2 separate regions of the Homo sapiens genome follow, and region 2 is linked to region 1. Evidence: promoter capture Hi-C in 16 types of primary human blood cells and fetal thymus (Javierre and others, 2016). All regions are on one chromosome and are shown on one strand. Each heading gives the region's core, a stretch centred on a gene start or on the middle of the fragment in contact. The rest is flanking DNA. Distances are from core to core; before and after follow the strand shown.

Evidence for each region. The method cuts DNA at HindIII sites, captures the fragments that hold promoters and counts their contacts. A CHiCAGO score of 5 or more calls a contact.
Region 2: a fragment that was not itself captured here is called in contact with the fragment with the promoter of DPYD-AS2 in region 1 in 2 of 17 cell types (M1 macrophages and M2 macrophages); the score reaches 6.7 in M1 macrophages.

Annotation. Positions count from the first base shown.
Region 1 is chr1:97,792,764-97,799,510 of GRCh38, reverse strand. DPYD-AS2 (DPYD antisense RNA 2) reads right to left here and starts at 2,590. Exons shown (of 3, transcript NR_046591.1): 1 at 2,439-2,590; 2 at 2,216-2,296; 3 at 1,460-2,043. The region is part of intron 3 of DPYD (dihydropyrimidine dehydrogenase); the gene reads left to right. The HindIII fragment of the contact is 2,382 bases long and covers 2,562-4,943 here.
Region 2 is chr1:98,029,750-98,036,496 of GRCh38, reverse strand. All of the region lies in intron 3 of MIR137HG (MIR137 host gene), which reads left to right. Among named protein-coding and RNA genes, the nearest start is that of MIR2682, 12 kb to the left of the region's middle. The HindIII fragment of the contact is 4,667 bases long and covers 360-5,026 here.

The sequences.
Region 1 (6,747 bases), core at 1,341-3,840:
TATTATTTCAGATAACTAGCATGGAGTTTCAGAAGGTGATTTTTTTTTCAGGATGAAAGCTTATTCATGCGGGTATATCTTTGGCTCTAGAAATTACTGTCATATACTCAGTAACCTTTTTGAAAACTTGCTGATTGATCATACAAATCAGGGTCATCATTTGTGTTTCTCAAGAAATACTGAAGCCACTCCAATAAATAAACTTCATGGTAACTTGTTGTTTTTACTTGATGTAATGTGACTGGCTAACCATTGTATAATGTCTCTGTGCTTCCATTTTGCATTCTATAGGGCTAGAGGAGGTGTACCACTGTGGAACAGTGTACAGGCTTCCAGGCTCACCTTGATATAGGAACAAGCTTGGCCTAAAGAAGTCAGTGTGGATGAAGTTTGGTGGAGGGAGATGAATTACAAGACTATACAGGACTCGTTTCCTTGCCATAGAAAGGAATATGAATTTTAATTTAATGATAAGAAGCAAGTAGAGACGTAATGTCTACCCCTTTTTATAGGTATAAAATGGAGATTCAGAAAGGTTCCATAATTTGAAGATGGGAGTCTCATAAGTGGCAAGGCTGGACTTTATACTCCTGTCTGCCTGTTACAATGCCTATTCTTTTTTCAATACCACCTTTATTATCTGGTACATAGATACTTAACAAATGTTTCTGAACATATATGTGCTCTGTGATACAGCAGATGAAACTTTAAATAACTGAAGTGAATACATTTAAAAATACTTTAGATGCATTTATTAAAAGATAACAATAACAACAAGCTTTATTTTGATCATTTAATTTTTCAATAATGTGTTAAATACTTTGTATGGATTATCTTATTTATTCTTAATAACAATCCTGTGAGGTAGGTACTATTATTATGCCCATATTGTACGTACATGGACAAATATCTTCACCTCAATACTGTGAGGTAGGTACTATTAGTATACTCATTTTATAATAACAAATATTGAATATTTAACAAATATTGCAAATCTATACTTAAAATGGGTAGAATAATAGTACCTGCCTCACAGGATTGAGGTGAAGATATTTGCCCATGGTCATACACTGAGTAAGTGATAAATTCATAATAGCAGAAACTATTTCACTATTTGCTTGATTGTCACAGGGAATTCTTTGAAACCATGTTTATATTTGTGGTTATTCTGTGTATGACTAGATGGTTATAAAAGTTTAAAAATTAATTTCATAGTTCACATTTTTAATTTTCTATAACAATTCAGAGAGACTATCCAGACATATGAATTAGGAGAATAATTCTGAAGAAATAGATGACACAGCAAAGGACTCTACATATAGGTTAGGACCATATTCTTGTTGGGAAGATGGCCAAAAAAGAATTTTGAGGATATTTTTTCAATTATTTAACAAATATTGAAAATCTATTATGTTCCACTTGGAAAAGAAAGAATTGGTGGGTAGGAGCCAACTAAGATCCAATAAACTTTTGTCTGTGACTTAACTCTTCTGAAGTTGTCAGAACGTTATGTTCCCCAGAGTTAGTTGTTTTGGTTGACAGAAATCTATGATATGCCAAATAAAGACTTTCTAGTTACTATTAACTTTGCCTTGCATGTAGAAAGAAAATATTACTCATCAGAACTTATCATAAATCTTAGGATGCAGTCATATCCCTACATATATTTTGATTATTTCAAAATCAAATATATACTTTAAAAAAGGCTTACTATGTTTTGAAGGGTTCATATTTTTTTTCTGAAAAATGGCAAAATAGTGCTGGCCTCATGATGCTTGGTTTAGTACAGGAACATACATACTAATATAAACAGTATGCCCAGCCAATTCATTATCATCCTGGAACTATATTCAGCCTGGCTACTATCATGAAAGATGAGTAGAAGCAGTGAGCTGGCAAAGCTGGCCTCTGCCTCTGGTTGTTAAGCTGTTGGCAGCTCAGGATGCATGACCTTTCAAATATACGCTTCTAATTCAGGACTTCTTATGATGTCATGTAGTTATGTTCTTCCCTTTTAGTGTATTCTCTCTTCAAAATTCTGTGCTGAAAAAAGGAAAAAAAAGAAATGTAAGCTACTATCCTTTTGGCCAAATGTTGAACTTTTCCTTCTGTAACTTTGTAGGTAGGAGACAGCAGAGTAACTGATCTTCCTACTGAAATGAATTTCCTTGAGCAAAATTATTTCAAAAAATATGTCTGGTATCTTTGTTTATACCTCAGGGTTGCCGAGCTGTCAGCTGCATGCCTGCTTTTCATTGAAGCATATGTATATTTGTGTATATATGTGTTTGTATGGCTTCCAATAGCATAGTAATAATTTCAGGGGAGGAAATAGAAAAGAAAGCAAGATAAATGTATTACATTTTTGTATTTCCTCCTTGCATTTTTTTAAAGATAAGACTCTGTTGTAAAATATAAACTGGCAATTTGATCATTACTTGTTATTCATTTGAACTAGTTCAGTCAACAGATAATGGACAGTGAACAGAGAGACCTCTTTTGGTAAGCCATGTAGTTTTTCCAGGGGTGATTGTTATGCTATGTGTATTTAGATAGAAGCTTTTCCCTGTGTAATCAGCTTGCTGCTGCCCATTTTACTGCCAAACATTCCTTCTCTATGGTAGCATAATACTGTTACCAAGGGAACAGCTTATGGCCGACACATACAGTAGTGCCACAAATTAATTTCACAGTTATCAGGATATAAGGTGATAACAGTAACGTGAGCTACTGTGAAATTACCATTGTTCCCACAGAGTTAGTGTAATTATTACTTTTGTGGTAACTAAGCAAATAATTCACATCACTACTCCTGGATGTTTGTTCTCTCTTCTCTGTCTCACCCTCCTTCTTTGTCTTTCCCTTTCCTTCCTATATTTTCCTCTTTTGTTGATTCAGACTCTCTCCCTGAGTCTCTTTTCACAATTACCAATTAATGTAGAGTATTTTTTATATTGGCATTAAGAAAGAGTTTTATTGAAGTGGGGTGAAGGCATCTCATATATGTAACTCATGGGCATAATTAGGATGTTCACTTCTATCAAAGATATAAAGGACTAAAACAGTGTATTGAGAGGATACATTCAATTTGTGATCAATGTAGACTCAGAGATTCCAGTTTTATTTTCATAGAATGTTAACTTCATGTGTTGAATAGAAGGATCAGTTTAATGTGATTAAAAGCAGTGGAGAAAAATTAACTTCCCTAATTAGCTGTGTTGCTTAGGACAAGGAAAACAACTTAGCTTTTTAGTACTTACATCTATAAAATTGGGATAATAATAATGCCTACCTAACAGAATTGGTATGTGGATTAAAAGAGATATGTGTGAAAGTGAATTTTAAACTGTACAATAAAAGTTTTAAGCTATTATGATCATTGTCATATAAATGGGGATACATCTGTAAAATGGGGTTAAGTATATTCACCTAACAGAATTGGTATGTGGATGAAAAGAGATATGTGTACAAATGAATTTTCAGCTGTACAATACAAGTTTTAAGCTATTACCATCATTGTTATATTTTAATGGAGGCATCTTTTGATGATAGCCTACCCTCATTATCAGAAAATTTATAAGGATAATTCAAAATAACAGCAGTAACACAGGGAAGAACACTTTTTATTGCATTTTATTATAATAAAAAGAGTGTTTCATTATACCTAGGGCACAACAAAATGAGATGTTATCATTATAAAATAACAGTAATTTTAATAATGAAATTTTCCAGAGAATGAGTCATATTTTTTATTGTTTTTATTGAGTATATGTATATGTTAATTAAAATTTCAGCATTGAAATATAAAATAATATAGGAGTGTGTATAGTATGTCCATTATTTTTTAAAAAGCTACAATGGTGAGTACATGTGAAATATGAGTTGTTCACTATGTCAAAAAGTGAAGTTGCTAAGACAAAGGTAAAATTATAGAAATGAGTTTATGTAGGAATGTTTGTTTTTAATTGCGTCAATGTGCATTATGATCTTTAGTCTCCATTCTATGTTATTTTGCTTTTAAAACGTATTTTATGTATTCTGTTAGCAAGATCAGCATATAGCTAACAGTTAGTATCAGTTACTAAATGTTGAGTAGTTAATTATGTATTTATTTATCATTCTAACACTATAAATTATACACTTTTAGCAGTTAGAAAATTGATACATGATAGAATAAAATAATTTGATGAAATTTGTAGCTAGGCATATTTGTTGAATGAATGAATTAAATATGGTGAATATGTAGTAAACTGCCTCCCATTGCTAAATGTCTTTTTAGAGAGGGTAGGAAATTAAAAATAATTATTTTCTCATGTAAATTTTTCTGCCACCCATTTTGAAGTTACCCAACACTGGTAACTTTACATAAAGAAGTATGACTTTAACTGGACTCTGTGCTCATCCCATTAGTTAAGACTGCTTTCTCACATTATTATTATTTTGGAAATAAGTAAAATTATTTTTATTTCCTACTCTTATTTGTTCTCTACAAAGAAAATCTAATGTGATCTACAAAAAGATACTAGAACAAACAAGATTAGGTATATTGCAAGATTGATATACAAAAATCAAATATATTCTAATCACTAACAACAAACAATTAAAAATTAAAACTTAAAGCAATACCATTTAAGATAGCATAAAAATTATACAGTACTAGGGATAAATCTGACTTGTGAAAGATGTGAAAGATATGTGTACTAAAAATCTATGTACCCTGCCCTGAAATAAGTGAAGCATGGCTTCCCACTTTTTAAGTGTGAAATAAGCGTGGTGACTTTTTTCCGAAAAGTATAATATGTAAAGAGTTGGAAAAGAGTAACTTTACAGAAGAGAAGCCTGAAAAATACTAACTAGCCAGGCAATCAAGATTGATATCAATGGTAGTAAGTCATGTTGATAATATGTACCCTTAGGTGAATGGAATCCAGGTCAAACAAGCTTTTTAAAATAGAGATTTAAAAACAAAACGGAAGTAATATATGTTAACTGTAAACATCTATGATCAGTCTTTAACGTTTTTAATTTGCTTTTCTATAATGGTGAATGATGCTGAATATCTTTTCATGTGTTTTATGCCATCTGTATGTCTTATTTGGTAATGTGTCTGTTTAGGACATTTGTTTATTTTTTTTGGTCGGCTTGTTTCTGTTATTATTTATTTTTGAGAGTTTAAACAATATTATGGATTCAAGTTCTTATCAGATATGTGCCTTGAAAATATTTCCTCCTAGTATGTGGGTTGTCTTTTCATTCTCTTAAGAATGTCTTTTGGCCTTGCCTGGTGGCTTATGCCTGTAATCCCAAAATTTGGGAAGGCTGAGGTTGATGGATTGCTTGAGCCCAGGAGTTTGAGGCTAGTCTGGGTAACATGGTGAAACTCTATCCTTACTAAATATACAAAAATTAGCTGGGCATAGTGGCGCATGCCTGTAGTCCCAGCTACTTGGGAGGCTGAGGAAGGAAGATCACCTGAGCCCAGGAAGTTGAGGCTGCAGTGAGCCATGATTGCACCACAGCACTCTAGCTTGGGCGACTGGAGTGACACCCTGTCTCAAACAAACAAACAAACAAACCAAACAAACAAACAAACACAACAACCAGGTGTTTTAAAGAACAGAAATTGTTATTTTTGATGAAGTTAAATTTATCAATTTCTTGTGCTATGATGTGTATTTTGGTGTCATATCTAAAAAAATCTTTGTCTACCCTAGGGTTGCAAATATTTTCTGCCATGTTTTCCTCTAGAAGTTGTGTAGTTTTGTGTTTTACATTTGGCTCTAGGTTACATTTCACGTTAAATTTTATATATGGTATGAGTTATGGTCAAAGTTTTTTTTCGTTTTGTTTTGTTTTTGTTTTTTTCATATGGGCATCCAATTGTTTTAACACCATTGTGGAAAAGACTCATTTCTCCACGGAATTGACTTTGCACTTTTATGAAAACCAGTTGTCAGTATATTTGTGGGTCTCTTTCTGGACTTTGTATTCTGTGGCATTGATCTTTTTTTCTATATTAACACTGGTATCATATTGTCTTCACAGTTAGTCTTGAAATCAGTTAGTTATAGTTCTCAAAGTTAGTTTTCCTTTTTATAAGTTGTTTGGCTATTCTAGGTCACCTGAAATTCCATATGAATTTTAGAATAAGTTTGTCTATTTTTACTAAAAGCATCTGCTAGGATTTTGATTGGGGCTGTGTTGACTTGATATATCAATTTGAGGTGAATCACCATCTTAACAAAATTGAGTCTTCTGACCCATGAACATAGTATAACTTTCCATTTTGTAAGGACTTTAAATTTTTTTCTCAGCATGGTAGTTTTTTAAAACATATTTTAAAACTTAGGAATAGTTTTAGGGTTACAGAAAAATAGCAGAGACAGTACACTATATAGAGATTTCCCACCTACACCAAGTCAGTTTCCTTTATCTTTAACATCTTATATAAATGTGCTTTGTCAAATTAATGAACCAGTATTGATACATTATTATTAACTGAAGTGCATACTTTATTCGTATTTCCTCAGTTTTTACATAATGTTCTTTTTCTGATTTAGAATTCCATCCAGGATACCAAATTATATTTACGTGTTATGTCTTCTGAGGCTTCTCTTGGCTGTGGCAGTTTGTCCAACTTACCCTGTTTTTGATGACCTTGACAGTTTTGAGGAGTATTGGTCAAGTATTTTGTAGAATGTGCCTTACTTAGAATTCGTCTGATGTTTTCCTCATGATTAGAGTGGG
Region 2 (6,747 bases), core at 1,444-3,943, 240 kb before region 1:
GAAAGTTGATATCCTTTTGACCATTTAATCCCATTTAATAGGTTTTCCTATTTTATTAATTATAAACAATAACTGTAAATAACTATGTTCATTCTCTTTCTAAAGTTTTTTAAAAAGGTTGTAGATATAATCCCAAGATAGGTAGGTAGATAGACAGACAGACTAACTTTTTAAAATCTATTGTCTTGCTCAACTGAAAATAATCCAGTGGAAAAATTGGCACTGAGAAGCCACACCTAAAATAATCAATATTTTGTCCAAAGAAAAATATTTTATGGATTCACATAATTTGGCCAAGAACAAAATGTTTTAAATTGTGTAAAGGATAGATATTAATCCTCATACCAGCTAATTAAGCTTCTTCTGTACAACATACAGTTTTAAGTTAACAGTAATTAATATAGCCAGCTTGGAACCTCAGGAAGCTAAAGCCAGCAAGTGCTTTTTGGTTCACTCGAGAGGATGCGGTTTGATTGCTGGCGCCAGTAAACAGGTTGGGAATTGTCAACATTGTAATTAGCAGCAAGTTTCTGGATTCTCTGCCTGCCAGACTAGTGGGCTGATGCTTGGAACAGTTGCCCCAGTGGGGAGAGTGAAAAACAAAGGAAGGGAATTTGAGCAACCTTGGTAGGCTCTGCCAGCATATGCCACTGGACCAATGTTTTTCTTGACAAAGTTCTATTTTAAGACATCTAGCAGTGGTTTCCACAAAATATGAAACTCACCATAGCAACCAAAATGGCAAGCGTCTCTAGGAACCTTTCCTTGATTGGGTATCAGGTCAAACTGTGTTCAGAGTGATATTGCCTTATGTGCAGTATGCTCTGTACCGTGCACAATGTGGTTATTAACAGTATGATTAAAAGGGTTAAAATCTGTTTTGGCAGCAATCCTTAAATAGTCTGCCTCTGCCAAAAAGCCTTCAAAGAATAAGGTTATGCAAACCTTATTAACCCTTCGTGTAGTACAAATGGAAAGGAAATGTGAACCTGAATACCACCGAGCATCCAATCTTCACTACTTACTTACATGATCATTTCAATCTAGTTTTCTTAATTCCAAACCATGTGATTGTTATGATCAAAGGTTGTCATAGATTTTAAACCCAAACCGTATTTGCAGTGGCTGTAAGATGAGGACTACATTAGTAAAGTTTATAAGTAATTTATAACCCAACTGAACAAAAATTAGACTATCTTTTGAAACCTGCTTAATAAAAGTTCATGTTATATATGTATAGACACACATATATGTAAAATTTCTCTATCTTAGAATATTTTATCTTATCTAAAATAAACAACATGCATACTCTGAGTAGTCACAGGATAAATACTAACCCACCTACCTTGTGGCAAAAGCACGATAACAAATCCTTTGGCCTTTTCTTTCTTTTTTCTTTTTTTAAAAAAAAAAAGCAGCTCTGTAGTAAATTTATTTTTCTTTCCAGTGAAAAAAAGGTCAAGGTTGCTGAGCATTGCTAAAATACACATACTAATTTCTCCCAAATAAGTGATTGGAGGCATATCACAGATATTCTTACTGTCACTATCTTTGCCAAAATGTGAGGAGGAGTTTCAAAAAGATAAACAGCATACAGAGAGACAAACAAAATAGCTTTCTTTACTGTTTAAAAAAAGTCCTCAAATGGATCAACGTGCTATATTAAGCAATTGCCAAGTGGCAATTTCTGCAGGTGGATTATCAGAAGTGCACAAAAATGGCTGTGTAGATCTGGCACCCAGGTGTCTGGTGTAGCATTTAGCGGACTCTTTTGTGGGGAGAAGGATTACTCATTTGTTGGAGAGAGTTCAGTTCTCTAATCCTCCTCCACAACAGAATCCATGTTGGAGTGAACAAGCAACACGATTCTTATCCACTCTCTCTAGACTCTGAGGAATGCTCCACAATTATTTATTATTTTCACTGGAATTAGATGCCTACAGGTGGCCCCATAATGTGCCTCCAGGCATACAACCTGCTGTAAATTTTTAAGTTACATTAACTCAGCAGTATGTTGTCTTATAATGACAGTTCATTCAGTCTATGGGGAAAGGAAAGGAAGCAGAAAGGCAGTATTTCGTGTTAAGCATTATTACAGCTCTTTCCCCGTTCTTTCTTTGAAGTTAGTAAAGGATATTTGGCAGAAGCAACACTCCTGGTGTTTTGGTGTGGGCTGTGTCTCCTGATAGATTCAGAAAGGAGGTCACAGACTCCAGGCCTCTGTATCATATCCCAGGGACAGATTTGTTTATGGGGTGTCAGTATTAAAAACAGGCAGAGCAGTAGGACTTTTTCTTTTTTTGTTCTTTTTTTTCTCTTATTATTTCCCCTTTTTTGCCTCCCTTTCTCCCTTCCTTTCTTCTCTTCTCTTTTCTTTCTTTCTTTCTTTTTTTCTTTCTTTCTTTCTTTCTTTCTTTCTTTCTTTCTTTCTTTCTTTCTTTCTTTCTTTCTTTCTTTCTTTCTGAGTCTCTGAATGACTTCTATTACTCAAGTGTTTTGTCATTAGTGGTCTTTCATATTATATTAGGAAAAAATTAGTTTAGTTTTATCGAGACATTTGGGCTTATGATGCTGTTGCAATTTCACCCCTGTCACATATCCTATATTCTGCAATTGTTTTTTCCTGGGTGTTTGGGTTACCGGTCAGTGAGAGAAGGAGGGAACTGCTTCATAGCTTTTTGGTCATTGAGTTTTATGCCTATCCTTTCTTTGTAATGGTGCAGTTGTCACTGAATGGATGCAGTTAATTCCCTCGTATGTTTTTGGATACAATTCTCAGAGCTGATGAAAAAACAAAGATAATATCTAAATTAATATACTTTAGGAGTAGAAATTAGTAGAAACATTTTTAGGGGCAATATACAAGTCGATTTAAGCCTCAGAAGTCCTAGTACTGGGTTATAAAGCTCCTTCTTACAGCCATAACAGAGTAAAATTTGTCTCCCACCATTCTATTCTCATTAAACCTATAGCTTATATTACAAGTAACAATGATGATGTGCATATTTTAAAAATATATTTTATGTGTACAAAGTCATATCTAAATTATTAAAAAGTACACAATAAAACTTGTTTTAGTGTTAAAACATTTTTATTAAAATTCCTGTATCATAGACGTGGGCAAACTTAGTAGCATAAGGCCAGTTGGACACTTGTGAAGTTATCTGCCTTAATATACAAACACCTACACTAGCCCATCTTTTATTTTATAGCAAGGGATGAACTTGCTGAGAAAAAGCAACTTGTATATTCAAAAGAACTAGGATGTCTTTCAGAGTAAATCATTAAATATCCATTATGCATGTACTATTCATGAGGTTTGTGTCCAGGTCTGTCAACATTTCTTAAGTACCTACTATGCAACTGGTATTCTTCTAACTGCTGGGGCTACTGAGGAATAATTAACAGACCTTGCCCTTGAAGCATCCATGATGTACGGGACCTCTTACAATTCAGGCTGTTGGAGACTTGGTGGGGAAGTCAAAGGAATGTAAAGCAGCATCCTCCTTTCAAGGAGCAGACTAGGATGTTGTTAATATTAAATATTAAACTGTATGAAAGTGGTTGTTTCTACAAGCCCTTACTGTTGTCTCTTCACCAGAACATACTTACATGTCACAGATGTAGTAATAAGTTCTTTCTAGAAGTAGATTTGCCTTCTCTTTTTTCCTTTAAAGTATGGAAAGTCTTTCAGAACTGAGTAGACTAAGGAAGCACCAGTTAGGAAAAGGAAAACATACTCACTTTTTCACATCAAAGCAATAGTTACTGTATAACCAATTATAAGTTATATAATACCATTTATAATGAAACATGATTATATTATCCCAGGACAAATTATTCGTGTATCCATAGTTATCAGAAAATATGTTTTAGTGATTATAAAATGATAGTGCTTGCATGTAATTCCCAAATTCATTAATATTTGATTCCAGAGTCAATAAGTGTCTTTTGAGAATGTGATGATAGGCTTTATAAAAGAAAGTGCTGAACGCATTATGCTGTACTTCAGAAAGTGGTTCTCAAAATGGGGCCTTCTTAGCAGTAGCCTGAGTGTCACCTGGGAACTTGTTAAAAATGCCTGTTCTCAGACCACATAACAGGCCCACTGAATAAAAACTGTGAACCCTAATCTGAGTCTCAACAAGCCCAATTCTGATGCCTGCTAGAATTTGAGAACCACTGCTTTCTATTGATTTTTTTAAAATGACAATTAAAGTCAGGTTCTATGCAACACTGATCCAGTGCTGACCCATTTTAGGCTCTCTTGTAGATTTAAAGTTACAAGTTATTATTATTAATTAAACCAGATATCTTAAATTAAAAATTATCACTTTACTTACCTGGTAAATTCTACATTTGGGAAATATTTTAAGCCCCTATTTTGAGTTCTATTTATGTAAAACTTACATAGTATTCTTATTAGTGTTATATAATGCTCACATTGCTATCTTTATAATTATAACATTAGATTGAATTTTTCCAGGACTTAAACCATTCTTTTATTTAATTTATTATTATTTTTGTAATTCCAGTAGCTGTCCCAATTTTTTACTCTGGTATTTAATTATATCCCAGTTTACAATCTAGGAGAATCAGCTTAATTTTATAAAAGGCATACAATATTGAATAAGACCTTTAGATCATTTGTGTGTGTGTGTGTGTGTGTGTGTGTGTGTGTGTGTGTGTATGTGTTATTGTCTCATGGATTATTATTAAAGTTTTCTCATTCATCTATGACACAAATAATTTTTAAATTCCCGTGGAAGGGAATTGCCCTGACAAAACTATTTGAGCACTTATACAATGTTCTAGTATTACAGTAGCATAAAATAAGTTTCCTAATATCTGTATTGGAACTGTATTTAATAAAAATTTACTTAGAACATAGGTGATTATATAATAGTAAAAATGAATGTTACTGGTTAAGCAATTAGATTATATGGGTTCTCATTATACCAACTGGAAATTGTCTTACAAAACTATAATATGTTCTTACTTCAAACCACAGCTTTTTATTGAAGCTTTCATAAAAACATTAGAAATTCAAAGGCTGGCCTGTTTAAAATGCAGCTCTAAAACTTAGTGAATAGTTTCTTGTTTAGTGCTTTAAATTAAAATAGAAAAGAACAACTGTTGAGACCATGTAACTCTGGATTGTAAGACCTAAAGTAGTCCTGTGACTTTTACATTTTGGCTTTTGTGTTTAACACACAAAAAATAATATCAAACCACCTCGAATATAACACTGAAGTAACTGGCTGACAATGTCAGTGGGCTTTTTCTCAGTCCAAAGTCTTCTTTTCATTAATGAAACACTGTGTTTGCTTATGTCAATGCATGAACTTAGTCATACACATTATAGGATGCCAGGATATATAACAAAGAATTAATGATAATATTTTTTAGTAAAAGTGCATCTTTGGGGGGTTTTCTCTTTGTTCAAATCCACCCCCCCGTCTCTGTACGAGGGAGCTGCTTTCTTCTTCCTTTCTTTTTTCTTGCCTATTAAAGTTTTTGCTCCAAAAAAGAAAAAAAAAAGTAAAAGTGCAGCTTTTACTAATATGTGAACACAAAAGGTAATGGCCTGAGTAGCAAAAAATTCACCTAAGGAAGAAGTATGTGTAACATTGATTAATAAATTCTGTGGTATTTTACTTCCTATCCCTAACACATTGATGTATTCCATAATACTCTGTTTTCTCAAACAGTTATTTGACTGTGTAACAGATCTTCCCCTCACTAAAAATACATTCTGACTATAAGCATAGAAATGTAAATCCATTTCAGAATATGATCTTATTTCCTTTTTGTGGTAGGGGTGAGTAACACTGTCCAAACTTACAAACTTAAGAGAGAGTCACAGTGGTGGAACAATTTATGCACACCCAGTTTAGATGGAATGATTGACAGGAAATATGTAAGAAATTCAAGTTATTCTTATGGAGGGAAAAAAGGTCTATTATTTTGACAGTTAACATTTTAAGATTAAGCACTTTAGATTAACCAGCAAGGAAAATGAAATCGTTTTAATAGGCCTATAGTTTGATGGATTTAGTTATTAAATTAAATAGACACTAATTTAAATGTTACTACTTCAACCCTTAAACAAAGAGAGTTTTAACTGTATAAAAAGATGCAAATAAAATACCAAGTAGCTTATATTTAGGCAGAGAAGATACTTAAAATTCAGAAATGTCAAAACCAGCTTATTCGTCTCTTGCAATGTAATTAAATGTTTCAGTTTATTTATCTTTAGTTTATCTTAAGTTGTATGATGGATTAATTGTACTCAGTAATTGTTTTGCTGTTAATGGTTTACATATTCTTTTTTATATTAACAAGTGTTATTTTAAACATTTTATAAAGGAAAGTTTGAAAAGAGTTGTTTAATATCACAAAACCCATTGTGATCTTTCTCAAGTGAATTTATAGATTTGTTTTTTTGGCTACATCTTTTGTCTAGTTGTGGGCCTATATCACTGATAATCCCATAACACAAGTTATTATATTAAGAGCTGGAAAACTTATCAGATGTGAGCTTATTAGTTATTCACAATAAAACATTAACAGTTTAACATTTCTCTTCTGGAAAGCTCAACATGTTTTACGCAGTTGATTTATTCATATCTCTTAACCATTTTATTTGCAGAGTGTTACCTTTGCTATTTAGATTTTTAATATGCCTATAAAAGTAGATTTATGATAGAAAAGATTCTAAATTACTCAGTTAAAAATGTATTCTTT